Linked DNA regions of Homo sapiens: region 1 is linked to region 2. Evidence: promoter capture Hi-C in 16 types of primary human blood cells and fetal thymus (Javierre and others, 2016). All regions are on one chromosome and are shown on one strand. Each heading gives the region's core, a stretch centred on a gene start or on the middle of the fragment in contact. The rest is flanking DNA. Distances are from core to core; before and after follow the strand shown.

The links. The method cuts DNA at HindIII sites, captures the fragments that hold promoters and counts their contacts. A CHiCAGO score of 5 or more calls a contact.
Region 1: a contact is called between a fragment that was not itself captured here and the fragment with the promoter of SNX32 in region 2, in 4 of 17 cell types (erythroblasts, M0 macrophages, naive CD8 T cells and 1 more). The highest score is 6.7, in erythroblasts.

The regions. Positions count from the first base shown.
Region 1 is chr11:65,990,079-65,996,526 of GRCh38, reverse strand. No RefSeq gene overlaps it. Among named protein-coding and RNA genes, the nearest start is that of EIF1AD, 8.9 kb to the left of the region's middle. The HindIII fragment of the contact is 2,532 bases long and covers 2,060-4,591 here.
Region 2 is chr11:65,830,021-65,836,941 of GRCh38, reverse strand. SNX32 (sorting nexin 32) reads right to left here and starts at 2,979. Exons shown (of 13, transcript NM_152760.3): 1 at 2,841-2,979. The coding sequence starts at 2,876. LOC124902693 reads left to right here and starts at 3,143. Exons shown (of 7, transcript XM_047427980.1): 1 at 3,143-5,644. The coding sequence starts at 3,431. The coding sequence ends at 5,047. RefSeq lists an enhancer at 2,898-2,987 and silencers at 2,912-3,124, 3,298-3,427. The HindIII fragment of the contact is 7,193 bases long and covers 1-3,856 here.

The DNA.
Region 1 (6,448 bases), core at 2,076-4,575, 160 kb before region 2:
TCTTTAATTCATCTGAAGTTTGTTTTTTCTGAGAGGTAGCAAACTTTCCCTAAAGGGAAAGTCACTTGTCCCTGTACTATTTCTTGAAAGGTTCATTCTTTGCTCACTGGAAATATTTCTTTTTTTTTTTTTTTGAGACGGAGTCTCGCTCTGTTGCCCAGGCTGGAGTGCAGTGGCGCCATCTCGGCTCACTGCAAGCTCTGCCTCCCGGGTTCACGCCATTCTCCTGCCTCAGCCTCCTGAGTAGCTGGGACTACAGGCACCCACCACCACGCCCGGCTAATTTTTTGTATTTTTAGTAGAGATGGGGTTTCACCGTTGTTAGCCAGGATGGTCTCAGTCTCCTGACCTCGTGATCTGCCTGCCTTGGTCTCCCAAAGTGCTGGGATTACAGGCATGAGCCACCACGCCTGGCCAGAAATATCTTTTAAAACATAAATTCCTGCATATATATGGATCTTTTTTGGAATTTCTAATCTGTCCTATTGATCCGTGTGCCCATACTGCATTTTTTTTTTTTTTGAGACAGTCTTGCTTTGTCACCCAGGCTGGAGTGCAGTGGCGTGATCTCAGCTCGCTGTAACCTCCGCCTCCCAGGTTCAAGCGATTCTCCTGCCTCAGCCTCTCCATAGCTGGGACTACAGACACTTGCCACTACACCCGGCTAATTTTTGTATTTTTAGTAGAGACGGAGTTTCAACTTTTATTTTTTTGAGACAGGGTTTCACTCCTGTCACCCAGGCTGGAACACAGTGATGCAATCATGGCTCATTGCAGCCTCCACCTCCTGGGCTCAAGCGATCCTTCTACCTCAGCCTACTGCGTAGCTGGGACCACAGGTGTGCACCACCACATCGGGCTAATTTTTCTTTTTCTATTTTTTTTTTTTTTTTTTTTTGTAGAGCCAGTCTTATTATGTTGCCCAGGCTGGTCTCAAACTCCTGGGCAAGCCATCCTCCCGCCTCAGCCTCCCAGAGGGCTGGGATTCCAGGCGTGAGCCACTATGTCCACCCAAGAAGTGGTATCTTAACAGTTTATTTTTAGTTTTGTTTAAATAAATATTGTAGAAAAATTAACAGTTTTTCATCTTCCTGTCCAGAAATGAGGTATGTTCTTTGGTAAGGTGGTGTGGTCTTCAAATGGGCCTTTACTTCCAATTTGGTTTAGTCTTAGGAGTTTTATGAAAGTCCTAGTTACTGGTAGTGAAGGATCTGTGGAAATCACCTTTCCCCATCCCTGGCATCCACCTGTGTGTCCATCTTTGTGTTGCCCACCTTGTCGAATGCGCAGTTCTTCAGTTGATCTTGTGGCTTTATAGATAGCCAAATCGTATCCCACTAATGACAGTTTTATCTCCTCCTTTACACTCATGTCTATTTCTTGTGAATCTCAGAGGCCAGGACCTCCACCGTGGTTGCATGGCACCCTTGATTGATGTTTTCTCAGTGGGAATGGTTCTCACGTTGCGTCCTGAGGTAGGACGCTTGCTCTGGGCTTCCGGTAGATGATCTTCATTAGACTGAAGATGTTTTCTTTGTTCCATCTTACTGTTTTTTTTTTCTCCTTCGCTTTTGTTTAACAGTGATGAATGTTGACATCTATGGAGAAAATCAAAAGATTTTATTGTATGATTGTACTGAGTTACAGTAATAGGTTTCCTAATGTTGGACACACCTTACTTTCTGATATAAACCTTGCTTAGTTTTACAGTATATTATGTATTTACTTAGGAGTTTTATCTCTCTCCCTGGGCCAATCCCCTCCCTCTTTTTAAAAAATGACCTTCCTGTTCTATTTCGAGATTAGCTTTATGCTAGCCTTGCAAATGGGTTTGGAGACGTCTTTTTCTTCAGGCTTGAATACTTTATAGGCCAGGCATTTGTTTCTTCAACGTTGTGAACTTGTTTACAAAAACATCTGTGCTGGGTACCTTTTTCAGGGGTGGATCTTTCACTGCCTTTTAGTTTATTCAGTTGTGTTCTGTCTAAAGTTTTCTATCCTTGAGTCAATTTTGATCATTTGTATCATTCCAGGATCATATTTCATATATATTTAAGCTTTTTGGGCAAAAGTTCATGCATAATATTTGTATTATTTGGAACTTTCTTTTTTTGTTTGTTTGTTTTTGTTTTGTTTTTGAGGCAGAGTTTCACTGTGTCGCCCAGGCTTGAGTGCAGTGGTGCAGTATCGGCTCACTGTAACCTCCACCTCCCGGGTTCAAGTGATTCTCCTGCCTCAGCCTCCCAAGTAGCTGGAATTACAGGCACCCGCCACCACACCCAGCTAATTTTTGTATTTTTAGTAGAGATGGGGTTTTGCCATGTTGACCAGGCTGGTCTCAAAGTCCTGACCTCAGGTGATTGGCCCCCCTCAGCCTCACAAAGTGCTGGGATTACAAGGGTGAGCCACTGCACCCAGTAATTTTTTTTTTTTTTTTGAGACAGCCTCTCACTCTGTTGCCCAGGCCATCATGGCGCCACTGCAGCCTTGACCTCCCAGGCCCAAGTGATTCTCCCACCTCAGCCTCCTGAGTAGCTGGAACCACATGTGCGCGCCACCACACCTGGCTAATTTTTTTTATTTTTAGTAGAGACAGGCTCTCCCTATGTTGCCCAGGCTAGTCTCGAACTCCCAGGCTCAAGTGATGCTCCTGCCCTGGCCTCTCAAAGTACTGGGATTACAGGTGAGAGCCACCATCCTGGCGTATGCGGGACTTTCTTATAAATGACAAAATTGAACTCAAATTAGGAGAAGTAAGCAAGGCTCATTGACCTGAGGTCTCTGAGTGGTGCGCATCGGGCAGGGATGAACCAATGCCAGCAGCATGAATTCCTCAGGCTCTCTCATTTATCTCTGTCATCTCTGCTCCCGGCTGATTAATTTCTTTCCCTCCTACAGATGTTTTCTGTAGAAAGCTCAAGTTTTTTTTTTTTTTTTTTTTTTGAGACGGAGTCTCGCTGTTGCCCAGGCTGGAGTGCAATGGCGCGATCTCGGCTCACTGCAGGCTCCGCCCCCCGGGGTTCACGCCATTCTCTTGCCTCAGCCTCCTGAGTAGCTGGGACTACAGGCGCCCGCCACCACGCCCGGCTAATTTTTTGTATTTTTAGTAGAGACAGGGTTTCACCGTGTTAGCCAGGATGGTCTCGATCTCCTGACCTCGTGATCCGCCTGCGTCGGCCTCCCAGAGTGCTGGGATTACAGGCATGAGCCACTGCGCCCAGCCAGGACGCTCAAGTTTATACACAGTCCTTGTAGACAGAGCCCCTTGGGGCTCTTGAGGATCCCTGTATTTCCGTGAAGGGCGATTGATCTTCCTCAGGTCACTTGCTGTGCTTGAGCAGTCACTGTGGCCAGGGCCGGGGGGTGGGAGGGTGTGGAGGACTGGGGTGGGGCAGGATGAGCCACAAGTAATTTTTATATGTTTCCCATGGAATAGAGAGGTTCTATTACCAGAAAAAGTGGGGCAAGGGGTGAGGGCAGGTGAAATCAACAAAATATGTTTATATTTTGTGTATTTTATTTGGCTAGCTTTGCAAGAGGTCTTCCTTACTGGACTTTTCCTTCGTTTCTTTGGGTTTATTTGCTCATTCTGGGTTCTTGAGATGTGTGCTTAGCTAATTTAATTTCAATTTGTTTTCTAATATATTCAGGGCTATATGTTTTCTTCTAAATAGTCCTTTGACTGTTCCCCACTTTGTGTGTGTGTGTTTTGGCGTTTTATCTGTAAACTTGGTCTTATGTTCTTCTCCATTCTCTCAGTGATACTGTGATCCACCTAGTAACATCTTTTTTTCCCCCTAAAACCTTTTCGTTTCCACTTCTTCATCTCTTACCAGCCATTCAGCTTCTGTGGGCTGTAGCTAAGGGTACTGATGGAGGTAGGGTCCTTGTATTCTGCATGCTACTTTCCTATGTCATTCTCTGAAGCTGGATTCCACCTCTGTTCTTCCAACTGAATGGTGGGATCCAACCATGTATGAATAGATCTCCCTGAGTGAGCTGAGATCTGATGTAAGAGCCCCTTGTCCCGATGTCATGGCCAGTCCCTGTGACTGGCTGCCTAATAGTACTTACTGGCTTCTCTTGCAGTTATGCTTGAGACTTTGTGGCCCTTCAGAATCTGTACCTCTGTCACTTCAGGACTAACCTCTACAGCCAGGTCATTTCCACCAGGGCTTCCCCGTGTGGCCCAGTGCGCTTTCCCCCCTTGCCACCCAGCCACCCCTGTGTGTGTGCCAGGGAGCACAGATGGCAGTCTGAGCTCACCACATGGTTTTCCTCTTCTAATCTGTAAATGTGGTGGAGTATCATAACATTCTCTCACGTTAAGATATCCTTGCATTCCTGGAAGAAGACAGTCACAATGGATTTGTTATTATACTGCCGGATTTGGTTCTCTGGTATTTTGGCATCCAGGTGTATAGGTGAAATGGTTTAAGGTTTTCCTTTTCCGTACTGCCCCCACCCTTTGTTTTGTATCAAGGTTATACCAGCTTCATATAAATAAGTTGGAAAGTGTTTTCCCTTTATTTTCATTACGAGAGTTTGTATAAGATTGGAATTTTGCATTTCTACAATTTTTGGTAAAGCTTGCTGTAAAACCAACCATGCCTGGCGATTTTTTGGGTGGGTGGGTAGGTAGGTTTGGAATTAGATTGTCAGTGGTAATAGATTACTCAGGTGTTCTGTTCTTCAGTCATATTTTCAAGGAAAAATATTTTCATGTTATTTATTTATTTATTTATTTTTGAGACAGGATCTTGCTCTGTCGCCCAGGCTGGAGTGCAGTGGCCCCATCTCGGCTCACTGCAACCTCCGCCTCCCGGGTTCAAGTGATTCTCCTGCCTCAGCCTCCCGAATAGCTGGGATTACAGGTATGTGCCACCATGGCCGGCTAATTTTTGTATTTTTAGTAGAGATGGGGTTTCACCATGTTGGCCAGGCTGGTCTCAAACTCCCGATCTCAGGTGATCTGCCCACCGCAGCCTCCCAAATTGCTGGGGTTACAGGCGTGAGCCACCACACCCAGCCCCCATATTTTCTCATGTTTGCTATGGCTTCAAACTTACTGGCGCAAAGTTATTTGTATGATTGCCTTATGTTTGTAATCTTGGCTGTATCCAAAGTTATGTCCCCCTTTTTACATGTAATATTGTTTATTTGTGCCTTCTCTCTGTTATAGCTGGTCAATCTTGGCAGAAGGTCATTATTAGTCTTTTCTAAGCACCAGCTTTTTGTTGTCATTCTTTGTATTGGTATTTCATTAATTGCTGCTCTTACCGTATTTCCCACTTATACTCCCTTTGTTTTTGTTTGTTTTTGTTTTTTTCTCATAACCAATGGGAAACAAACCAATCCCTCTGGGTTTATCCTGTAGTTCTTTTTCTTTTTCCTTTCTTTGTTTTGTTTTGTTTTGTTTTGTTTCTGAGATGGAGTCTTGCTCTGTCACCCAGGCTGGAGTGCAGTGGTGCAATCTCAGCTCACTGCAACCTGTGCCTCACAGGTTCAAGCCATTCTTCTGCCTCAGCCTCCTGAGTAGCTGGGATTACAGGCGCCCACCACCACGCCTGGCTAATTTTTATATTTTAGTAGAGACGGGGTTTCAGCATGTTGACCAGGCTGGTCTCGAACTCCTGACCTCAGGTGATCCACCCGCCTCGGCCTCCCAAAATGCTGGGATTACAGGCGTAAGCCACTGAGTCTGGCCTATATTTAAACATTTTGGCTGGGCATGGTGGCACATGCCTGTAATCCCAGCTACTTGAAAGGCTGAAGGGAAAGGATTGCTTAAGCCCTTGAGGAGTTTGAGGCCAGCCTGGGTGACATAGTGAGACTCCCTTTCAATAAAAAATTAAAAGTCAAGAATAATTAAATATTTGGTTGGTTATTTTTAATAATGTGAGCAGCTTCAAACCCACCACCATAAAATAAAGGCTAGGACTTTAACAATAACCCAAGTAACATACTCCACCTCCCATCCTACCCTGACCAGCCCATTCTCTGCTGTCCCACCCAAGGCAACCATTGTCCGAATTCCATGTGCACTTTTTTTCTTTTTACATGGTTTGCTTTATTTTTATTTATTTTTATTTATTTATTTATTTACTTACTTACTTACTTTTTGAGATGGAGTCTCGCTCTTGTCGCCCAGGCTGGAGTGCAATTGTACGATCTCAGCCCACTGCAACCTCCGCATCCAGGGTTCAAGCAATTCTCCTGCCTCAGCCTCCCGAGTAGCTGGGATTACAGGCCTGCACCACCACACCCAGCTAATTTTTTTTGTATTTTTAGTAGAGATGGGATTTCACCATGTTGGCCAGGCTGGTCTCGAACTCCTGCCCTCAGGTGATCCACCCGCCTTGGCCTCCCACAGTGCTGGGATGACAGGTGGTGAGCCACCGTGCCCGGCCTGGTGCTTCGTCTTTAGTAGTTGCCCAGTTGTCTCCCA
Region 2 (6,921 bases), core at 1,730-4,229:
GGTATTTGTCCTAATGCTGTCCCTCCCCTTACCCCCCAGCCCCCCACAGGCCACAGTGTGTATTGTTCCCCTCCCTGTGTCCATGTGTTCTCATTGTTCAACTCCCACTTATGAGTAAGAACGTGTGGTGTTTGGTTTTATGTTCCTGTATTAGTTTGCTGAGAATGATGGCTTCCAGCTTCATCCAGGTCCCTGGAAAGGACATGATATTCTTTTTTATGGCTACATAATATTCCATAGTGTATATGTGCCACATTTTCTCTATCCAGTCTATCATTGATGGGCATTTGGGTTGGTTCCAAGTCTTTGCTATTGTAAATAGTGCTGCAACAAACACGTGTGCATGTGTCTTTATAGTATAATTATTTATAATCCTCTGGGTTTATTTATTTATTTTTGAGACAGATTCTCGCTCTGTTGCCCAGGCTAGAGTTCAATGGTGCGATCTTGGCTCACTGCAACCTTTGCCTCCTGGGTTCAAGCTATTCTCCTGTCTCAGTCTCCCAAGTAGTTGGGATTACAGGTGCGCACCACCACGTCTGGCCAATTTTTTGTATTTTTAGTAGAGATGGGGTTTCACCATGTTGGCCAGGCTAGTCTTGAATTCCTGACCTCAAGTGATTTGCCTGCTTTGGCCTCCCAGAGTGCTGCGATTACAGGCTTGAGCCACCACGCCTGGCCAGTATTTTATATTATTTCATTTTCTCCTCTATTATATTTTTGCTTATATATTCTTTTAATGTCTCTATATTTAAAGGAAGATCTTAGAGAAGGCAACACCTAACCTAGAGGATAAGTACTGGTAGTGAACTTTCAGAGTATGGCTCCTGCAAAGGCTGGGGGGTGCATCCATCTGTTCAATAGCTCAGCACATCCTCAGAACATACAGCAAAAATAATATAACAATAATAATAATATAATAGCTAACCCTTATGTTGGCCCTTACAATATGCTAGGCACCACTCTAACCATTTCATGTATATGCCCTAAGCATTTTATATATGTTAACTCCTTTAACCATGAAGATGAACATACATAGATAAACATTGAAGCAGACCATTCTGTTCCATGCTTTGTGTCTCTCAGCCCCTCTTGCCCCTCTAAACCACTTGAACCCCGCTCCTCATTTCTTGGCTTCTCTGACACTCCCAAGGCAGGCTCTCCCCTTGCCCCAGACCCCAAACACATGCAGTCTGGCTAACTGGTGCAGCAGGTCCCCTAGTCCCCAGCCTCTTTCCTCCTGCCTTAGTATCTCTACTCTGACCTACACTGCTTGGTAGCTGCTTGAGGGAGATGGGCCTCAAAGGTGGACCACAGCTGCTCCATCCTCATCCTCAGCCACGGCCCACTATGCATATGCCTCCATCTCCCAAAAGGGTGCACCTCTCCATGCTCTAACCATCCTTGGCACAACGTGGATGCTCGACAACTCTTTGCTGAAGGAAGTCAAAAGGAAGAAATGGTCTTATCATTACATGAACTCAGAACACAAGTGAAGCCATTAGGGCTGAACAGGATTCTCTCGCCTTGGGAAAGGAGAAGAGGATGCCAGCCTCTGCTCAATCCCTAACATCCTGCCCTCCTCCCCGCCCTCACCTCCCACCCCCTACCCACCTACCCCCATCAAGACAGCCTGAGTTGGTCTTGGGGAGGGTAAGAGTGACAGTGACGGGTCCCTTTCCATCTGTAAGGACAAAGGCAAAACCCTGCCTCCCTTGGCATCCTCATCAGTCCGCACACAGGTGCCACAGAGGCTCCCCACTCCCTTGCTCAAGTCTCCTTTCTCTCACTTGCGCAGACACACACATACACACAGAGACACATGGGCACATACACACACACAGACACACGAGACAAACACAGACACACGCACACACAGACACACATAGAAACACACACAGATACACAGACACACACAAACACACAGGCACAGAGAAACACACACACAGACACACACAACGACATACACAGATCATACACAGGCACACAGACACACACAGATGCACACACAGACACACTGACATAGACACACACAGATATACAAAGACACACGGATACAGACACACACAGACACATGCAAACACACACACAGACCCAGAAATACACAGACACACACACACAGACACACGCAGACCATACACACACACAGAGACACACACACACAGACATAAAGATGCACGCAGACCATACATAGACACAGAGACAGACACACACTCAGACACAAAGAGACACAGACCTGCGCAGACACACACAGGCACATGCGTGCACACACAGATACACACAGAGACACACACAGATGCATACATGCACACATGCAGACCATACACACAGACAGACACAGACACAAAGACACACGCAGACCATACACAGACACAGACACACAGACACACACACACAGACATGCACAGACACACACAGAGACAGACACAGACATGCACGCACAAACACCCACATGGACGCATACGTGCACACACACAGACACACACAGGCCATACACACACACACAGAGACACGGAGACACACAGACACACACACAGATACACAGAGACACACAAAGACACAGACACACACTGAGACACACACAGACACACAGACACACAGAGACACAAATACAGACATACACAGATACACACACACACAGACATATGCAGGCACATCGACATACACACAGACACACAGAGAAACAGACACATGCAGACTATACACACACAGACACACACAGAAACACACAGAGGCAGACCACACACACACAGACACACACACACCACCGCATGATTGGGCATCACGGGCTTTCATGGAGTGAGGGGAGGCTGGGGTGGGGGTCTTCATCCTTTCTCTACCTTGCCCTCCTTCCCAACCTCCGCATACGTCTCCATCGCTCTCCTGGGCTTCAGCGTCCGGCCACTGCCCGCGTGCTCCCGCAGGTCGTCCCCGTAACTCGCCCGAGGAACTGACCGAGTGAGGATGCTCTCAGCTGACGGGGACGCTCTCCCCCGCCCGGCCAAGGAGTCGCCTGGAGTCGGGGGCGGTTCCCACCGCGTTTCCCTCAGCCACGCCTTTCGATTGGGTAGCGGGGCACCGCGCGTGACGCCATTGGCTGCATTGTCTGTCGTTCCTGTCCCAGGCCCCAGCTTTTAAGGGACACGCGGCACGGAGAGTGGGCCGGTGATAGGCGACAGTGTGGGAGCTGGGGTCAGAGTTCATAGGGTCGCAGAGGCCGCGTGCCGCGTCTCCCTCCAGTCCCCGGGGGACTGACCCCCACAACAACCCCGTGCCGCCGTTCCGGGCCCCTCCTTCCAACGGCCACGTGCGGCCTGCGCGTGCGCACTCGCCCAGTTTGGCGCCCACCAGGCAGTGGGGAAGGGGAAGGGGAAGGGGAAGAGGGTGAGGGTGGCAGGGTGGGGACAGGGAATGGGAAGCAGTGGTGGGGATGTGGGTGGTGGACCAGGGGCGAGGGCAGGGGACAATGTCTGTGGAGAAGGGGGGTCTGTTTAGGTTTCCGCTCTTGGACGGGAGGGAGCGGCGGGGTAAGCAGCCTAGGAGGACTAGGGAGCTCCACAAGTCCCGCGGCCAGGGCGCCCCAAGCGAGGCCGGGGTCCGCGAACGGTCGCCACTGGAGCGGGGCTGCAAGGGGGTGCCGATGCTGCGAGAGAAAACCTGGGGACCTTGGAACGGGCTCATGGTAATTGGGAAGAGAGTGGAGCTCCTGACTAGAAACACTCGAAAGCCGAAGCTGGAGTCTGAGTACTGGAGACTGGAAGATGTGGAAAAGACGGTCTTGAAAGGGAAGTCAGGCCCGAGTCAGGAAAGGATGGATGTGAAGCTGCTATACCGTGGAGCAAGTGCATCACAAGCTTCAGCAGATTTGGGGAAAGACAGCCCAAGGGGTATTTGGGGAAAGCAAGAGGTCAAACACGAAATAAAGGCTAAATCTAAGAGTGCAGGGATGACAGCAGGGCCTATGAAGGGGTCTGGGTTTGAAGAGAGGTTGAGGTCTGCTGGGGAGAAGGTAGGGACCAGTGGAGAGGACTTGAGATCCAATGGATATAAACTGGGACAGGATGAGAAGGGGTTGAGGTCTAGTGTAGACAAGATGAGATCAAGTGTAGAGAAGCTGAGGTCTACTAGTGAGAAGCTGGTGTGCAGGGGAGAGAAGCAGGGGTCCAGTGGAGTGAAGCTGAGGTCCAGTGGCAGAAAGCTGAGATCAAGTGGAGAGAATTTGAGATCAAGTAGAGAGAAGCTGAGATGGAGTGGAGAGAAGCTGGGAACTAGTGGAGAGAAGCTGGGAACCAGTGATGAGAAGCTGAGGTTGAGTGGAGAGATGCTGAGATCAATCAGAGAGAAGCTGAGGTTGAGTGGAGAGAAGCTGGGAACCAGTGATGAGAAGCTGAGGTTGAGTGGAGAGAAGCTGAGGTTGAGTGGAGAGAAGCTGAGATCAAGCAGAGAGAAGCTGAGGTTGAGTGGAGAGAAGCTGGGAACCAGTGATGAGAAGCTGAGGTTGAGTGGAGAGAAGCTAAGATCAAGCAGAGAGAAGCTGAGGTTGAGTGGAGAGAAGCTAAGATCAAGCAGAGAGAAGCTGAGATTGAGTGGAGAGAAGCTGGGAACAAGTGATGAGAAGCTGAGGTTGAGTGGAGAGAAGCTGAGATCAAGCAGAGAGAAGCTGGGAACCAGTGGAGAGAAGCTGAGATCAAGCAGAGAGAAGCTGAGGTTGAGTGGAGAGAAGCTGGGGTCAAGTGCGGAGAAGCTGAGATCTAGTGAGGAGAAGTTAGGGACCAGCGGGGAGAAATTGGAGGGTTCAAGAATGGGGAGCATAAATGAGAAGAACATTGAAAAAGTGGTAGAAGTTACTGGCGATGAAAGAGTGATGGCATTTACTCATGATGAGATGGAAATTCCTTTTGAAAGTGTCAAAGGGAGTGAGGAACTACAAGGGACTGAGAAAGGAGTGGGAGTTGAGGGGGGCATCTTGAGTGAAGTGAAAGATATCACTGATGAATCTGTTTCTATGGAAAAAAAAGATATTATAGGTGAAGGTACCAGTGAATGAGGCAGATGAAGGATTGACACCAAAGAAGGAAAGAGGCAGACAGGAGAAGTACTGAAAGTCAGAGGAGAAATTAGAGCCAGACAGAACATTATTGACACTGAAGGGGTAAAGTTGAGAAAGGAAAGGAGAGAGTCTGAGCCTAAAATAAAAGAGAGTGGAAGTGAGGAAAAGAGCTTCTGGGGCTGAAGGCGGAGGCCAGGATCAAAGGAAGCAAAGAGGAGTCTCTGGTTCAGAGGGAAGTGGGAACATATGGAGGAGAAAGAGAAGACTTGGTAATGTGTTGACAGAGGACACTTGGATATTGGGAGAAAAGGTGTGACTGGGAGCTCATAGGGAAATGTTTGAGAAAAGGATGGAGGATGGGCTAGAAGGATTTAGTCTGACACTAAATGGGGTCTATGAGATGGAGAATTGCAGCAGGATAAAGGGTAGATTTTGAGAGTTGTGGAAGAAGGTGCAGACTGAAGTGGGCAAAATTTCTGAAAGAGGAGCCTGAAGAATGAAGGGCTCCCAAGTGACAAAAGCAAGAGAGGAGATAAGAAAGAAGTGAGAAAAAACATAAGAAGCCACGTGCCATAATGGTGATTGTGTTTGTTGGTATGTCCTTCATTATTTCCTTTTCTTTTCTTTTCTTTTCTTTCTTTCTTTCTTTCTTTTTCTTTTTTCTTTTTTTTTTTTGAGACAGTCTTGCTCTGTTGCCCAGGTTGGAGTGTGCAGTGGCGCAATCTCGGCTCACTGCAACCTCTGCCTCCCAGGCTCAAGCGATTCTCCTGTCTCAGCCTCCCAAGTAGCTGGGATTACAGACATGTGCCACCATGCCTGGCTAATTCCCTCACTATCTTCTAACTTCCAAGTATTGCTATTTATAAGTCTTTTTGTTCTTTTCTTTTAATTCTATAGATAGTGTTTTTTTCTATGTAAATTACCTGTTTGCTACCACTCCCTAACTCAACCTGTATCCTCACCCCATTTTCTCTGGCCTTACTAGAGGATGTTAGACCTTGAATTATAGCTGTTATCTTTTTTTCTCCTTTTGCCCGTCTCTTTTTATTGTATTCTCTGGGCAATTTCATTAACTTTAAAACAATTGATGTATAGTAGATGTACGTATTTTGGGGGTACCTGTAATATTTTGATACATTCATATAATGTGTAAAGATCAAATCAGGGCAATTGGGATATCCATCATCTTAAATATTTATCTTTTCTTTATGCCAGGAACATTCGAATCATTCTCTTCTAGTGATTTTGAAATGTACAATAGATTATTGTTAACTACAGTCACCCTACTGATCTATAGAACACTGGGTCCCATTTCTTCCATCTAACTGTACATTTCTACTCATTAACATGTCTTTATTTCCTCCACCCTTCCTGGCCTCCAGTAACCACCAATCTCATCTCTATTTTCATGAGATCCACTTTCAACTTTATTAACTGTATCTTTCTTTCTTATTGAAATTTTACATTTTAACTCTCTTGTTCATTGATTGCTTTTTTTTTTTTTTTTGAGATGGAGTCTGGAGTCTTGCTCTGTCACCCAGGCTGGAGTGTAATGGCGTGATCTTGGCTCACTGCAACCTCCGCCTCCCCGGTTCAAGCAATTCTCCTGACTTAGCCTCCTGTGCTCACTGCATGAGCTGGGATTACAGGAATGCATCACCACACCCGGCTAATTTTTTGTATTTTTAGTAGAAACGGGGTTCCACCATGTTGGTCAGGCTGGTTTTGAACTCCTGACCTCAGGTGATCCACCCATCTTGGCCTCCCAAAGTGCTGGGATTACAGGCGTGAGCCACCGAGCCCGGCCGTGCTTCTTTTTTTATATATAGTATTTCTGTTCTTGTTTCATGAGTCTGTTCTCTTAGCTCTCC